Regions from separate parts of the Homo sapiens genome. Here all the other regions are linked to region 1. Evidence: promoter capture Hi-C in 16 types of primary human blood cells and fetal thymus (Javierre and others, 2016). All regions are on one chromosome and are shown on one strand. Each heading gives the region's core, a stretch centred on a gene start or on the middle of the fragment in contact. The rest is flanking DNA. Distances are from core to core; before and after follow the strand shown.

What was found. The method cuts DNA at HindIII sites, captures the fragments that hold promoters and counts their contacts. A CHiCAGO score of 5 or more calls a contact.
Region 2: a fragment that was not itself captured here is called in contact with the fragment with the promoter of CHD9 in region 1 in 2 of 17 cell types (total B cells and erythroblasts); the score reaches 6.0 in total B cells.
Region 3: a fragment that was not itself captured here is called in contact with the fragment with the promoter of CHD9 in region 1 in 5 of 17 cell types (total B cells, naive B cells, monocytes and 2 more); the score reaches 8.7 in total B cells.
Region 4: a contact is called between a fragment that was not itself captured here and the fragment with the promoter of CHD9 in region 1, in 1 of 17 cell types (naive B cells). The highest score is 7.4, in naive B cells.

The regions. Positions count from the first base shown.
Region 1 is chr16:53,053,575-53,056,915 of GRCh38, reverse strand. CHD9 (chromodomain helicase DNA binding protein 9) reads right to left here and starts at 1,925. Exons shown (of 39, transcript NM_001308319.2): 1 at 1,839-1,925. RefSeq lists enhancers at 1,538-1,587, 1,100-1,631. The HindIII fragment of the contact is 11,983 bases long and covers 1-3,341 here.
Region 2 is chr16:53,267,101-53,270,649 of GRCh38, reverse strand. CHD9 (chromodomain helicase DNA binding protein 9) reads right to left here. Exons shown (of 39, transcript NM_001308319.2): 21 at 3,160-3,356; 22 at 2,524-2,723. Among named protein-coding and RNA genes, the nearest start is that of RBL2, 170 kb to the left of the region's middle. The HindIII fragment of the contact is 1,021 bases long and covers 967-1,987 here.
Region 3 is chr16:53,187,891-53,191,338 of GRCh38, reverse strand. All of the region lies in intron 2 of CHD9 (chromodomain helicase DNA binding protein 9), which reads right to left. Among named protein-coding and RNA genes, the nearest start is that of CHD9, 130 kb to the right of the region's middle. The HindIII fragment of the contact is 1,385 bases long and covers 930-2,314 here.
Region 4 is chr16:53,245,977-53,249,379 of GRCh38, reverse strand. CHD9 (chromodomain helicase DNA binding protein 9) reads right to left here. Exons shown (of 39, transcript NM_001308319.2): 16 at 1,877-2,087. Among named protein-coding and RNA genes, the nearest start is that of RBL2, 190 kb to the left of the region's middle. The HindIII fragment of the contact is 581 bases long and covers 1,658-2,238 here.

The sequences.
Region 1 (3,341 bases), core at 676-3,175:
TCAGCCTCTCAAAGTGCTGGGATTACAGGGAAGAATTTGCAAATTTAGAACTTGTGAATAATGAGAATCTACTGCACTTTCTTCCTGTTTCTCTCATTCGGGGCTGGCTGAATTCTGTCTTACTCATATTTTATCTCTAGCATCTGGAAAACTGCCTGGCCCACAGTAGGCTCTCAATAATAAATGTATTTCCAATGAGCGAATGAGTCAATTCAGTGGAAGTGCTCAGCTCACAGCAGTGATAGCTAGTGTTTGTGAAGACACACCACGCGCCTGCCCCGTGCACGCTGTCCTGGTCAACAAGGGAAACAGCAGAGTATTGTTCTTTTGCACCTGAGCTCAAGAGCAGACTGCCTGGGTTCAAATATGGGACATGCTTCTTATTAATTAATTATATAACTTCGAGCAAGATCATTGGCCTCTCTGAGCCTCAGTTTCCTTGGCTATCAAATGCAGTATTCATAGTTCTACCGTGGAAGTTATGGTCAGGAGTCTAACTTGGCCCTGCACAGAAAGCCTCTAGCATAGGGTGAACCCTTAGTAAACAGTAGCTTTTATTGTGAATAATTCCCAAGGCAACCCGATTTTCACACCCATTTTGCAGATACAAAAACTGAAGCTGAGGATGGTTCAGTGAGTTTCCAAGGTCACAAAGGAAGGGCTGCCTATGGGGGGGAATCTATGCCCATGTTAGTAACACTGCTGTTATATAAACATAAGGGGTCAGCGGGGCGCAGCGGCTCATGCCTATAATCCCAGCACTTTGGGAGGCCGAGGCTGGAGAATGGCTTGAGCCTAGGAGTTTGAGACCATCCTGGGGAATATAGTGAGGCCCTATCTCTATAAAACAAACAAACATAAGGGCTCATTTTTACTAGTTGTAAAAGGGCCCTTTTACTAGTTGTAAAAAAGGCTCGTTATAAGGCCTCTCACTGCCTAATCAGCTAGGTTTGCCAAAATGAGGAAGACAGCTCCAGCCAGTCTCCTGATCTTCTCTGGGATCAGGGTGGGGAGGAACCCCCTTCCTACCCATAAACCCCTAAGAGTCTTCGCTCACATTCCACACTGGTGTCTTTCTGTTCCTTGTCCACTTTCGAGTTCAACCCTTTCAGAACCAGCCCTACTGTGGGGGGTGGGGGATGGTTAGTTTGTTATCTTGGGTTTGACAGTACAAAGGCAGAGGCATTTCCTGCTTAAAAGGCACATGAGAAAGGAGGAGGAGGGCGAACTGGAGGAATAGGAGGAGGAGGGAATCATCAGCATTCTGGGTTAGAACAAACAAATGTCCTCCGTTTTTCTCCAACTCCTTAGATCAAGGGTCCTCAAATTTGGCTGCCAGCTGGAATCTCTTGCAAACATTTTAATACCCAGATGTCCAGTCCCCCACCCAGACCAATCACATCTGAGTCTCTGGGGGGGGGCGGGGGTGGAACTAGGGCATCGGTATTTTTTTAATGCTTCCCAAGCAACGCCAACGGGCAGACAAGTTTAAGAAGTGGTGCTCTGGACCTTATCAGCACTCGGCTGCCACCCTGGAGTGGCTCTGGGCGACAGTGGCTGCTTTCCGCTTCGAGGACGCCCGGCTTGGGGATTCGGGCATGCTCTGGGAGGCGAGGGCTGGGGAGGATGCGAGCGTGCCAGCGACCTGGTGCTCTGCCTTGCTCTAGGCCCAGCTCCGAGGCTGCGGGTCTCTGGGTCCCCCCCACGGCTACAACACGTGCTGCCGCCCCGACTCCTCCGGTTATCTCTGCAGACCGCAAGCGGTGCCCAGCGGCCGCCCCGCTGTCCACCCCGACCTCAGAGGCTCCAGGGAGACGCCCGGGGCTCAGGAATCCTACCTTGGCTGCCGGCGCTGCCCTCCAGTCCCCGGAATCCTGGGACTCAGGTTCGAGCTGTCGCTGTCGCTGTCGCTGCGCCTGTGAAGCGCCCACTAGAGCGCAGGCGCCACCTAGTGGGCGCGGGGCGGCTGCGCAGGGACCGCGCTGGCAGGCGGGAGCGCAGTCCAGGGCGGAAATGCAGCCAGGGCTTCTTCCCACGTGGGCGGTTTTCCAGCGCGCCGCCAGCCCTGTGGCCAGATCCGGCCTGGGGCGGGACCACCTTCACCCGCTGCGGGGCACTGGGATCTAAACTTGGTGAACTTTCTCTTGGGGCACGGAGGGACCCCTCGGCCTGGTATCCATCCTCCGGTTTTCCGGGCTGAGCACAAGGATCTTTCCCTTCATCCAGCAGCTTTCAGTGCACCCCACCTTTGGCACTGCTTCTCTTTTAAATGTGCTGGGACCATCCGAGGCTGGGGTTCTCTCCAACCCAGGGAGGCCCTTCGCCTATCAGCAACCATTTTTTCCTGCCACCCCCTAAACCGTCCCTGAATGAGAGAAACAGCCTGCTCTGCTGGCTTGCTCTACAGAGGCCAGGACTGGTGGAGGATGGGTGTGTGCCAGCGACCTCGTGCTCTGCTCTGCTGGAAGGCCTTCTCTGAGCAGTGGAAGGGGAAGGGGCGGCTTAAGGGAATTGTGTTTTTTGTTTTTTGTTTTGTTTTGTTTTGTTTTTGTAGAGACAAGGTCTCTCTATGTTGCCCTGGTGGCTCTTGAACTCCTGGTCTCAAGCGATCCTCTCACCTGCAGCCTCCCAAAGCACTGGGATTACCGGAGTAAACTATGGCTCCCAGCTGCCTGGTATTCTTTCAATGAAGACATGCCAAAACGCTTACAAATATGGTGGACATTTAATGGTTTATATTTCATTTATGTCTTCATTTAACAACGATTAACTGAGCACCTACTATGTGCCACTTTTCTACAATCAAGGGATACAATGAAGAACAAAACACAAAAATCTCTGCTTTTGTTGAATTCACATTTAATGTAACACATGAATACTTTTAACACACCCAACGATCTAATGCAAAGCGATTGAGCTCGTTGTGAGATAAGTAGAGGATTTATTAAAAATATCTATATTTAGGGCCAGGCACCGTAGCTCACGCCTGTAATCCCAGCACTTTGGAAGGCTGAGGCAAGAGGATCGCTTGAGGTCAGGAGTTTGAGACCAGCCTAGCCAACATGGCAAAACCCAGTCTCTACAAAAAATACAAAAATTAGCCGGGCGTGGTGGCAGGAGCCTGTAATCCCAACTACTCCAAGGCTGAGGTGGGAGAATCCCTTGAACCCGGAAGGAGGAGGTTGCAGTGAGCTGAGATCGCACCACTGCACTCCAGCCTGGGTGACAGAGTGAGACTCTGCCTCAAAATCAATCAATCAATCAATCAATCAATCTATGTTTAGGGCGCCAAGGGCAGACATTCCTGGTGATGGATATAAGCATTACAGAGTTCTATGGGA
Region 2 (3,549 bases), core at 228-2,727, 210 kb before region 1:
AAAATTATAGAATACAAGTATATACAACAGTCCCATTATCCACATTCAATAATTATCAACTCATGGCCAATTTTGTTCACCCCCAATCTTTCACATTATTTTGAAGTAAATGTAATAAATCAATCATTTCATTCATAAATATCAACGGTATCTTTTAGCAATATCTAAAAGATATTTAGTGGTATCTAAATTTAATTTAACAGAGGTATCTATTTAGTGATAAAGCCTCCATTAAAATAGCTACAACACTATTATCAGCCCTAAGATGCAATAATAGCTTCTTAATATTTGGTATTCAACATTCTAATTAGTTAATAAAGATAATAAAACATTTCCTCTGGGTTATTTGTTTCAATCAGGATCTAAATAAAGCCCCCACAGCACTTTGGGAGGCTGAGGCAGGAGGATCACTTGAGCTCAGGAATTTTGAGACATGCCTGGGCAACAAAGTGAGACTCCACCTCTAAAAAAAAAAAAAAAAAAAAAAATTAGCCAGGTGTGATGGTACACGCCTGTACTCCCAGCTATAGGGGAGGAGGATCACTTGAGCCCAGGAGTTTGAGGCTGCAGTGAGCCGTGTTCACGTCACAACACTCTAGCTTGGGCAACAGAACGAGACCCTGTCACAAAACATAAAAATAAAAATAAAGTCCCCAGACCCCACACTGCAACTGGCTGATAACTTTTCAATCTCTTTTAGGTTATAGCAGGGTTTCAATCTTGGCACTACAATATTTTGAGCAGGATATTTCTTCATTGTGGGGGGCGGGAGACTATCTGTGAACTCCTGGCCTCTACCCACTAGATGCCAGTAACACGCTGAAGGTTGTGATAGTCTGTGGTAGGGGTGGGATTGGGGCAGAAAGTCATCTTTGGCTGTGAATAGATACCTCTCTATTCACTCCTAATCCGATAATTTATTTGTTGAGGAATCCAAGTCTTTTGTTCTGTAGAATTTGTTAAGCTTAGTGCCTTACTTTTTTCTAGTGGAGTTTCAAGAAAGAGTGAAATTACATTTGTGTGATTCTTCCATCTACCTAGAAGTCAGGTCTTCACATTAATTAAACTCACTGTCTCCTATTAAAATAGGCCTACACTGACCACCCTATCTAAAATGGGTGCTTTCTGTTGTTTTCCATCTCAATAGTTTATTTACTTCACAGTAATTACCACAATCTATAACTAATGTACATTCTTACTATGTCTGTCTACCTGGTTAGAATGTAAGGTTCATGAGCTCAGGGATCTTGTCTATCTTGTTTCTTCTTATCTTTTCAACACCTTGCACAAGACACACACCAGCCATTCAACAGATATTTTTTGATTAAGTAGAATAAAATTGTAACAAATTTAAGGGCATAGTAATTCTTTTTATTTTTTACTGGAAATTCAATTATTTTATGCTATAAAATAATTATTTCATGCAAAAAAGAATGTTCTGTTAGGAAGGCTAAGGAGCAAAAAGTACTAGCGTATACCTCTGAGAGGATTGTAAATTGGCATAACCATTTTGGACAGCAAATTAAAGTATAATGAAAATTTAGGCCAGGCATGGTGGCTCATGTCTGTGATCCCAGCACTTCGGGTGGCTGAGGGGGAAGGATTGCTTGAGCTCAGGAGTTCAAGACCAGCCTGGGCAACATGGTAGGACCCTGACTCTGCAATATAAAAAAATTTTTAAAAGCCGGGTGTGGTGCTACATGCTTGTGGTCCCAGCTACTCAGGAGGTTGAGGCAGAAGGATGGCTTAAGCCCAGGAGGTTGAGGCTGCATTGAGCCATGTTTGCATCACTGTACTCTAGCCTGGGGGACAGAGCAAAATCCTGTCTCAAATAATAAACAAAAATTAAAAAGTATTATGAAAATTTAAAATTGCATATCAATGTTTCTCAAACTTTAATATGTACACTAATTCCTATGGATCTTGTTAAAATGCAGATTCTTATTCAGTAAATCTGAGGCCTAAGATTCTGCATTTCTAAGAAGCTTCCAGAAGATGCTGATGCTGCTGACCCAGAGACCACATTTTAGGTTCTAAAGATGTATATAAGCTATACTTTAATAATTCCATTCTTGATATCTACTTTAGTGAAAGATTTATTTATATGCACAAGGAGGAGGGTACATGGATCTTCTCTGAAACTTGTTTTTTAATTGTCTAAAATTGAAACTACCTAAACACCCATCATCAAAGGAGATACTAAATAAATTATGGAATATCCATACTACGGAATACTAAGCAGAACTTAAAAAATGAGATAGATCTATCTGAGCATAGACGGAAAGACCTCTAAGACATTTAGTTGGGTCATCAATTCCAAACAGATACGTATTTGATAACAAAATGTAAAATCCACCAAACTGATAACACTGGCATTTTCTGAAGCTGGAACTTGAATTGGGAGTGAAGGTTAAGGTTCCTTAATATTATTTGTAATGCTTTTATATTTTATAGGAGAATATGTTAAGTATTACTTATATAACTAAAAATAAATTTTAAAAGCAAATGAAACAATGTTCTTACCTAGATGATTCTGTAGCTCTCGTGTCTGTCCATCTTCAGTTGGAGTAATGAGATCCCATATGAAACCTTTAATCTTCTCATCTCCTCGGTAGTGAACAAGGCAATATGCTAAGAGAGCTCGGCAAATTATCTCTACATCGTGTTCATTTAGCTGCCTTTTGAAACGGCCATGAGATAGAATCTCTCTCCATCGGCCCCACCTGGTTAAAAAAGGTATAGTTACATTGATATTGAGTCAAGTTCTAGAGAAAAATATTAACTCATAGATAAAAGGAATGAAAAACTTTAAAAAATTGTCATTTTTGCTAATTAAGTCTTCCCTACCCATGCATAGAATGTAGAGGAATGGTATAGTAATTTCTAGTATATTTTATTCAGTAATGGATAACATCTAATTTGTATTACTGAATATGCGAATTTAAGGACAAGAAGTTTGACTTTAGTGATACTTTGAAAATTTAAATACTTGAGGATAATCTCATCATTCTGCTCTTAAATATATGCTAAAAATAGAGTACTTTAAAAGTAAATTTTAATGATTCTAAGAAGATAAAAAATATACTCAAAACCAGTATATATTTTCTGTAACATTACATACCAGACTACTTAGAGCAAACATTAAAAACAATGTTTTACCCATAAACTAGCAGGTTTTTCTCAACTCTAAAGCATTCAGTTCTTCCATAGCCATTGGAACGGTCACAGGGTCTCCGGAGTTTGGGCTTTTCATCTCCTTCACTTTCAGCTTCAGATAATTCAGCCAATTCATCTTTTGTGGCACTAAAAGGTCTTGTTTGCTTCCTAATTCTTGGAGTGTCAATAACCAAGCTGTTCTGTAAAACAGAACTGCTATTACCTGAAGGTACTTTTATGATTTTGCTTACAACAGTGTTCTACATTTTTACCTTATACAAACAATAATTACAGAAACACAGACAAAAAGAAACAACTAACAATTTCACCAACCTATTCAGTCAACTTAGAATTGCTTATATTCCTTTAGAATTCTTACTACCACACATGTAA
Region 3 (3,448 bases), core at 373-2,872, 130 kb before region 1:
TAAAAAGAGTGACTTTTGACTGTGTGTAAATTATAACTCAAAAAAAGAAAGAATGAGAAAGAAATGAACTGATACATGAGAAGACATAAATGTTTAAAATAATATAAATGGTGAAAAAGCCATAAAGAAAAAAGTAGGTACAGCATGATTCCATTTATATGAAATTAAAAACAGGCAAAACTAATCTATAGTGGCAGAAAGTAAATCAGTGATTGCCTGGGGCCAGGGATGGGAGGAAGACTACCTGCAATGGGGCATAAGGAACTTTTTAGGGTTATAAAAACATTTTATATCTTAATTGCGGTAATGATTACCTAATTGTATATATTTGTCAAAAATCATCAGATTACACTTAAAATGGGTACATTTCATTGTATGTAAATTATGCCTCAATAAAATTGATTTTAAAATGTACTTACTAAGTGGACATATGTAACAGGATTAATTTTACCCTGACTTATCTGTTTAATAACTCCTCTTCTTTTATTAGTTTTAATTATTTGACTACAAAGTAAAATTAGATTATATTATACTAATTTCTATAATTTATGCTGGCCTGTTGTTAGTGGCAGATACTCAATTTAGAAAATATTTGCTAATAACCTATTACATAGAGGTACAAAAAACAGACTCTCTGGGAAACACACCAGAGATATGGGGAAAATGGTAAATCAATATAAACTAGAGGGGCAAGGAAGACTTGAAAGTGTTCTCAGAAAATAAGCTAATTTTTATAATGATGAGATAATAAGATATTCAATGGAGGAAGATAAGCATAACCAAAGGCATAACAAGTGAAATAACTGTGTAGAAAAAAATTTCGTAAGTTATATTCCAGGAAATTGTGAGATATTAAAACACTCAGATTCATGTAAAATTCTGAGATGCAGCCTTGTATTTCCTCCTCCTTGGCGCGTCATGATAAAGCTTAACATATTAAAGGCTCATTCTCAGAGTCCACAGAGAACGAGCAGAAAATGAGCTTGAATGGATTGGGTAGCAAAACTATAAAATTTTTGATTCTCAGTGTAGACAAAAACAACTCTTTTATATCTTTCAAAACCCATTTTATTTCTTCTAGTATAAAACGTTTTTAATTGAGAAAGAAATTAGGTTTGTCTCCACCCACCTCTACCATCTGGAAAGAAAGCCATATTGTAAACTGCTATAATCTTACAAATAGAGAGATTTAATCAGTAATTTGCTCTTCAATGGGAAAGGTGATATTAAGAATAATTTGGGGACCAATGTGGACCAGAAGTTTGTTGGTTCTGTTCTAGTTTGGGAGGTAGGGTTGGGGGAAAATCATGGTTCAATGTGACATTTTTAGAATACTCAAAAGTATTTTAAATAAGAGGTTGAGGGATAATAAATGTAATATTAAAGTGTATCCCCATAATATAGATGCAAAAAAACAAGTACAAAAGTACTTAAATGATTACAGGTCACATATACTGTCAACATTAGCTTTCCGTCTATTTTGTTGATCTCAAATATTTGAATAAAATATATCTTCATTTATACCTCCGCTATCATCCTGTAAGACATGGAAAAAATTGCACAGTCTACAAATGCACTAAAGTCTGATAAAAGGCTATAAAAATATTTTGCTAATTGTTCAGTTTAATGCAATTATCCAGGATGACCCATTAAAGCCAAAATACAAACACAGCAAACGCTAGTACAAATCATAAATTCAAACTGCAGAGCAGTATCTTTTGCTAATACAGACACAAATATTTTCAACAAAATAATAGCAAACCTAATCCAGGAAAAAAAAATATATATAATACATATATATATAGAGAGAGAGATACATACCATCGACAAGTAGGATTTATTTTAGGAGTGCAAGGCTAATATCTGAAAATCATATCAACAGAATAAAGAATAAAAACTAAAATGATCACAAATAAAAACTAAATGCGATGAAGAAAAAGAATCTGACAAAGTTTCAACATCTTTTCATGATAAAAACACAAAACAAACTAGGAATAAAAAGAAACCTTTGCAACATAATAAAAGGCATGTATGAAAAACCCACAACTAACATCATACAGTACTTAATGGTGAAAGACTGAATGCTTTTCCCTAAGATCATGAACAAGACAAGGTTATCTACTCTTGTCACTTCTATTCAACACTGTTCTGAAAATTCTAGTCAGGGCAATTAGAAGAGAAAAAGCAATAAAAAACACCTAGATTGGAAAGCAAGAAATAAAATTATCTTTAATCTTTATATTTGGAAGCTACGATCTTTCAAATGAAAAAAAAACCCAAGGAAATCTGCAAATCAAATATCTGATGTCAAGCTTTTTCAATTTAAAAAACCTGATAAGAGATTTGTATCTAAAATATATAAATAACTCCTACAAATCAGTAACAAAAATAAGTAACCCAATTTAAATATGGGCAAAAGATCTGAATAGACATTTCTCTAAAAAAAAGATACAATGCTAGGCACGGTAGCTCACGCCTGTAATCCCAGCACCTTGGGAGGCTGAGGTGGGCAGATCACCTGAGGTCAAGAGTTTGACACCAGCCTTGCCAACAAGATGAAACTAAAAATACAAAAAATTAGCCAGGCGTGGTGGCAAGCACCTGTAATTGCAGCTACTCGGGAGGCTGAGGCAGAAGAACTGCTTGAACCTGGGAGGTGGAGGTTGCAGTGAGCCGAGATGGTACCACTGCACGCCAGCTTCCATCTCAAAAAAAAAAAAAAAAAAAAAAAAAAAAGGTAATGACCAGTAAGCCCATGAAAAAATGCTCAGTATCATTAGCAATCAGGGAAATGCAAATCAAAACCACAACAAGACATTACTTTATACCAAGATGGCTACAATAAAAAAAAGACATAAAAACAGGCATTGGCAAGTATGGAAAAATTGGAACCCTTATACACTACCTGTGGGAATGTAAAATGGTACAGCTGCTCTGGAAAAATATAAAAGTTACCCAAAAGGTCAAACATAAGAAAGAATTATATAATCCAGCAATTCCATTCCTAGGAATATATGCAAGAGAAAAGAAAGCCTGTATGGGAACATTCATAGCAGCATCATTCATAATGGCCAAGAAGTGGAAACAACTGAAATATCCATCACTAATAAATGAATAAAATGTGGTACATATCCATACAATGGAATATTATTTGGCAATTAAAAATGAAGTGCTGTTACATGCTACAACATATATGAACTCTGAAAATATTATGCTAAGAAGCCCATCATAATCACATTATTTCATGACTCCATTTACTTGAAATGTTCAGAATAGGCAAATCCATAGACAGAAAGTAGATTGGTGGTTGCCTAGGGTTAGGGTGTTAGGAATAAATTAGGAACGACTGCTAACAGATGTGGGATTTCTTTTGGGAGTGGTGAAAACATTAACATTTGAAACACTCATTTCTGCTTTTCTTACATTTTAATATTCAAGATTACTCTTT
Region 4 (3,403 bases), core at 699-3,198, 190 kb before region 1:
ATCTTTTAACTTCCTTTATCCTTCCCCATTTAACATATACAAAACTCAAAAACTGCAAGACATCAAATAAAAATAAAATACATAAAAATTTAGGAGCTTGGACTCTAAGTGGTATACATATGACATCTGACACACTTCTACATATGATTTACTAGAGTTTTAGCAGTCTCTCCGCGGTTATCTCTGGTACCTGCAAAATGGAGACTTCTAATAATGTTTGTTATGACAATAAAGAAACTCTGAATTTTCCATGAAATTTATTACAACAGAAATTGATAAGTAATTTTATCTGTATGAAGTTCTCCACGTAAGAAGATTAAAAAAATATAAGAATTACTATTTTTGGGAACAGTGCAACTTAATGTTCGTATCACATGATATAAAATTGAGAATACTATACATTTTAAAATGAGGCTAAAGAGTAGGACATTGACAATAAAAATGGAACTAGAAATAAAAATGAAAAATAAAAATGAACTACATAATCTCTAATAATATAAATCAGTATAGACCTTTACTTATCTATATGGGTTAAAATCTATTGAATTAAAATCTGCAAGCCAGGTGCAGTGGCTCATGCCTATAATCCTAGCACTTTGGGAGGCTGAGGTGGAAGAACTGCTTGAGCCCAGGAGTTTGAGATCGGCTTGGGCAACACAGTGAGACCCTGTCTCTACCCAAAATAAATTAGCTGGGTGTGGTAGTGCATGCTTGTAGTCCCAGCTTCCTGGGAGGCTGAGGTGGGAGGATTGCTTGAGCTCAGGAGTTCGAGGTTGCAATGAGCTATGATCACACCACTGCACAACACCCTGGGCAACACAGTGAGACCCTGTCTTCAAAAAAAAAAAAAAAACAAAAAAAAAAACCAACAAAGCAAAAACAAACAAAAAAAAATAAAATAAAAAATCTATAGCTGAAATTTCTGATTCTCTTTTACATTAATATGTTACTATCAGATGGAATCCTAATGGTCTGATAAAATATCCTACGATAATTAGCCTATTATAGCCTAAATACTGATTAGACAATTTTTTTTTTTTTTTTGAGACAGAGTTTCGCTCTGTCGCCCAGGCTGGAGTGCAGAGGCACGATCTCGGCTCACTGCAAGCTCTGCCTCCCAGGTTCACGCCATTCTCCCGCCTCAGCCTCCCGAATAGCTGGGACTACAGGTGCCCGCCATCATGCCCGGCTGATTTTTTGTATTTTTTTTTTTTTTAGTAGAGACGTGGGTTTCACCGTGTAAGCCACGATGGTCTTGATCTCCTGACCTCATGATCCGCCTGCCTCAGGCTCCCAAAGTGCTGGGATTACAGACGTGAGCCACCGCGCCCGGCCTGATTAGACAATATTTAACACTATCTTATTGTGATGTACCAATAAACAAAACAAAACAAAAAACCCACATTGAAACAAATCAGAAAAAATTAAAGCATGAACAAATTTTATATAGTATATAATAAGAATAAAAGTCCCACAACTTAAGGCTCTAATTATAACAATGAAATAGATCCAAAGTTCTTGAATCACTTTTTTCAATTTTGAAGATGACTGTTGTAAATATATATCTATTTAAAGTTTCATCCACAAGGTTTATTAATCAAGTAAAATGTACATTTTTAAACCCATTCCTGGGTAAACAAATATTTATTTGCAAGCTTTTCTTAATTGGACTCCTCAGGCACATCTAATATTGCAACATATGCAGGTTAGGAAAATATAACACATAATCCTAAACAATCTTTACTTATAAATTTGAATGCATTATTCTAATCTAGCAAAGAGAAAGATATGAGTAAAGTTCATTTACATTACAGTGCTGCACAAATCTTAATAGCATATACTTAGCATAATTCACAGTAAATTCAGTATGCTTTACCTTTTATGTATGAGATAGTCCTCCAGAATGTCAAGGCAACGAACCATTTGAGAGAAGATGAGCACTTTATGACCTCCGGCTTTCATTTTGGGAAGCAATTTATCAATAAGGACCAATTTACCAGCAGACTGGATCATTGCTTGAAGATGAAAATCAGAAGCAGCTGGATTGTAAGTATCTCTAAATTCTCCAAGTATTTTCTCCTCAGCACCTGTCAAAGAAATAGGAGAAGATAACAGCAATGTGCAAATGCAGGAAATTCCCAATTGCTTTCCTTTTAATCACAATTAGTGCTCCTGTGTGCTTCTGTAACATAATTTTCTAATGGCATGTACATTGCTTTTATTAGAATTATTTAAGCTTGTTGCTGAACCTCCACCAATACCAGACTGTAATTCCATTGAGGACACAGACAAGGTCTTAAACATCTTTTTGTCTCCTCAGATACCTGGCATAATGCCTTTTATAAATTTATGTTTGCCAAATGTTTAATGAATGTTATTAGGGAAAAAATAAAACTGTGGTCCTAACTCAGTTGAGTAAACACATATATTTTTAAATATCTAATATTTAAACAGCAATCATAACAGTGGTCATCACTGAAGGATGATCATAGTTGATCTGGATGTGTCTATGGGCATCTTGTTAGCCATCAAAACAAGGAAACAAGAAAAAATTAAGGCTAGGTGCAGTGGCTCGTGCCTGTAATTTCAGCACTTTGGGAGGCCAAGGCAGAAGGATTTCCTGAGGCCAGGAGTTTGAGACCAGCCTGAGCAATATAACAAGACCCCATCTCTACCAAAAAGAAAAAAAAAAGAAATCAGCTGGGTATGGTGGTGCATATGCCTAGTTCTAGTTACTAAGGAGGCTGAGGCAGAAGGGTCAGTTTCCAGGAGCTTGAGGCTACTGTGAGCTATGAACACACCTCTGTACTCCAGCCTGGGTGATAGAATGACACTGTATCTTAAAACAAAAACAAAAACAAACAACAACAACAAAAAAACACAGAAAAAGAAAGAAAGAAGAGAATAAATTAAAATGAAAGCCATGTTACAGGTGCTTGATGCATACTTCCTTCGGATAATCCAAATCAGAATTAAAGAGGCTCTCTGTATTCCTTTCCTCAGCCTGTCTAGCCATAAGAGAGTACTGTAACTACAAGAGACTTCAGTTGTCTTGAATAAAGTGAGTAGAGAGGCGTATATTCCCAAGAATAAGTGAAAAACCCAAACATTGTACAGAGAGAACACTGGGAAAGAACCTGATAAGATCTTAAAAAGTAACATTATTACAGCACAAGAATTGAAACACTAACTGATGTATCTTGACTGGAAGGAAACCAGGAAAAAAATGGCAATGCAGAAGCCCCAAAAATGGGCTTTGCTGTCTTTGCCTATGAGGAGGATTAAACAAGAGGACAAATTCTAGTCCAAATTATACTGAACAAACTGCTGCTGTCATAACCTGGTGTGTTAACATCAGTCACTGTAACAAAGCAGTTCACATTGCCTCTGATTCTGTAACACT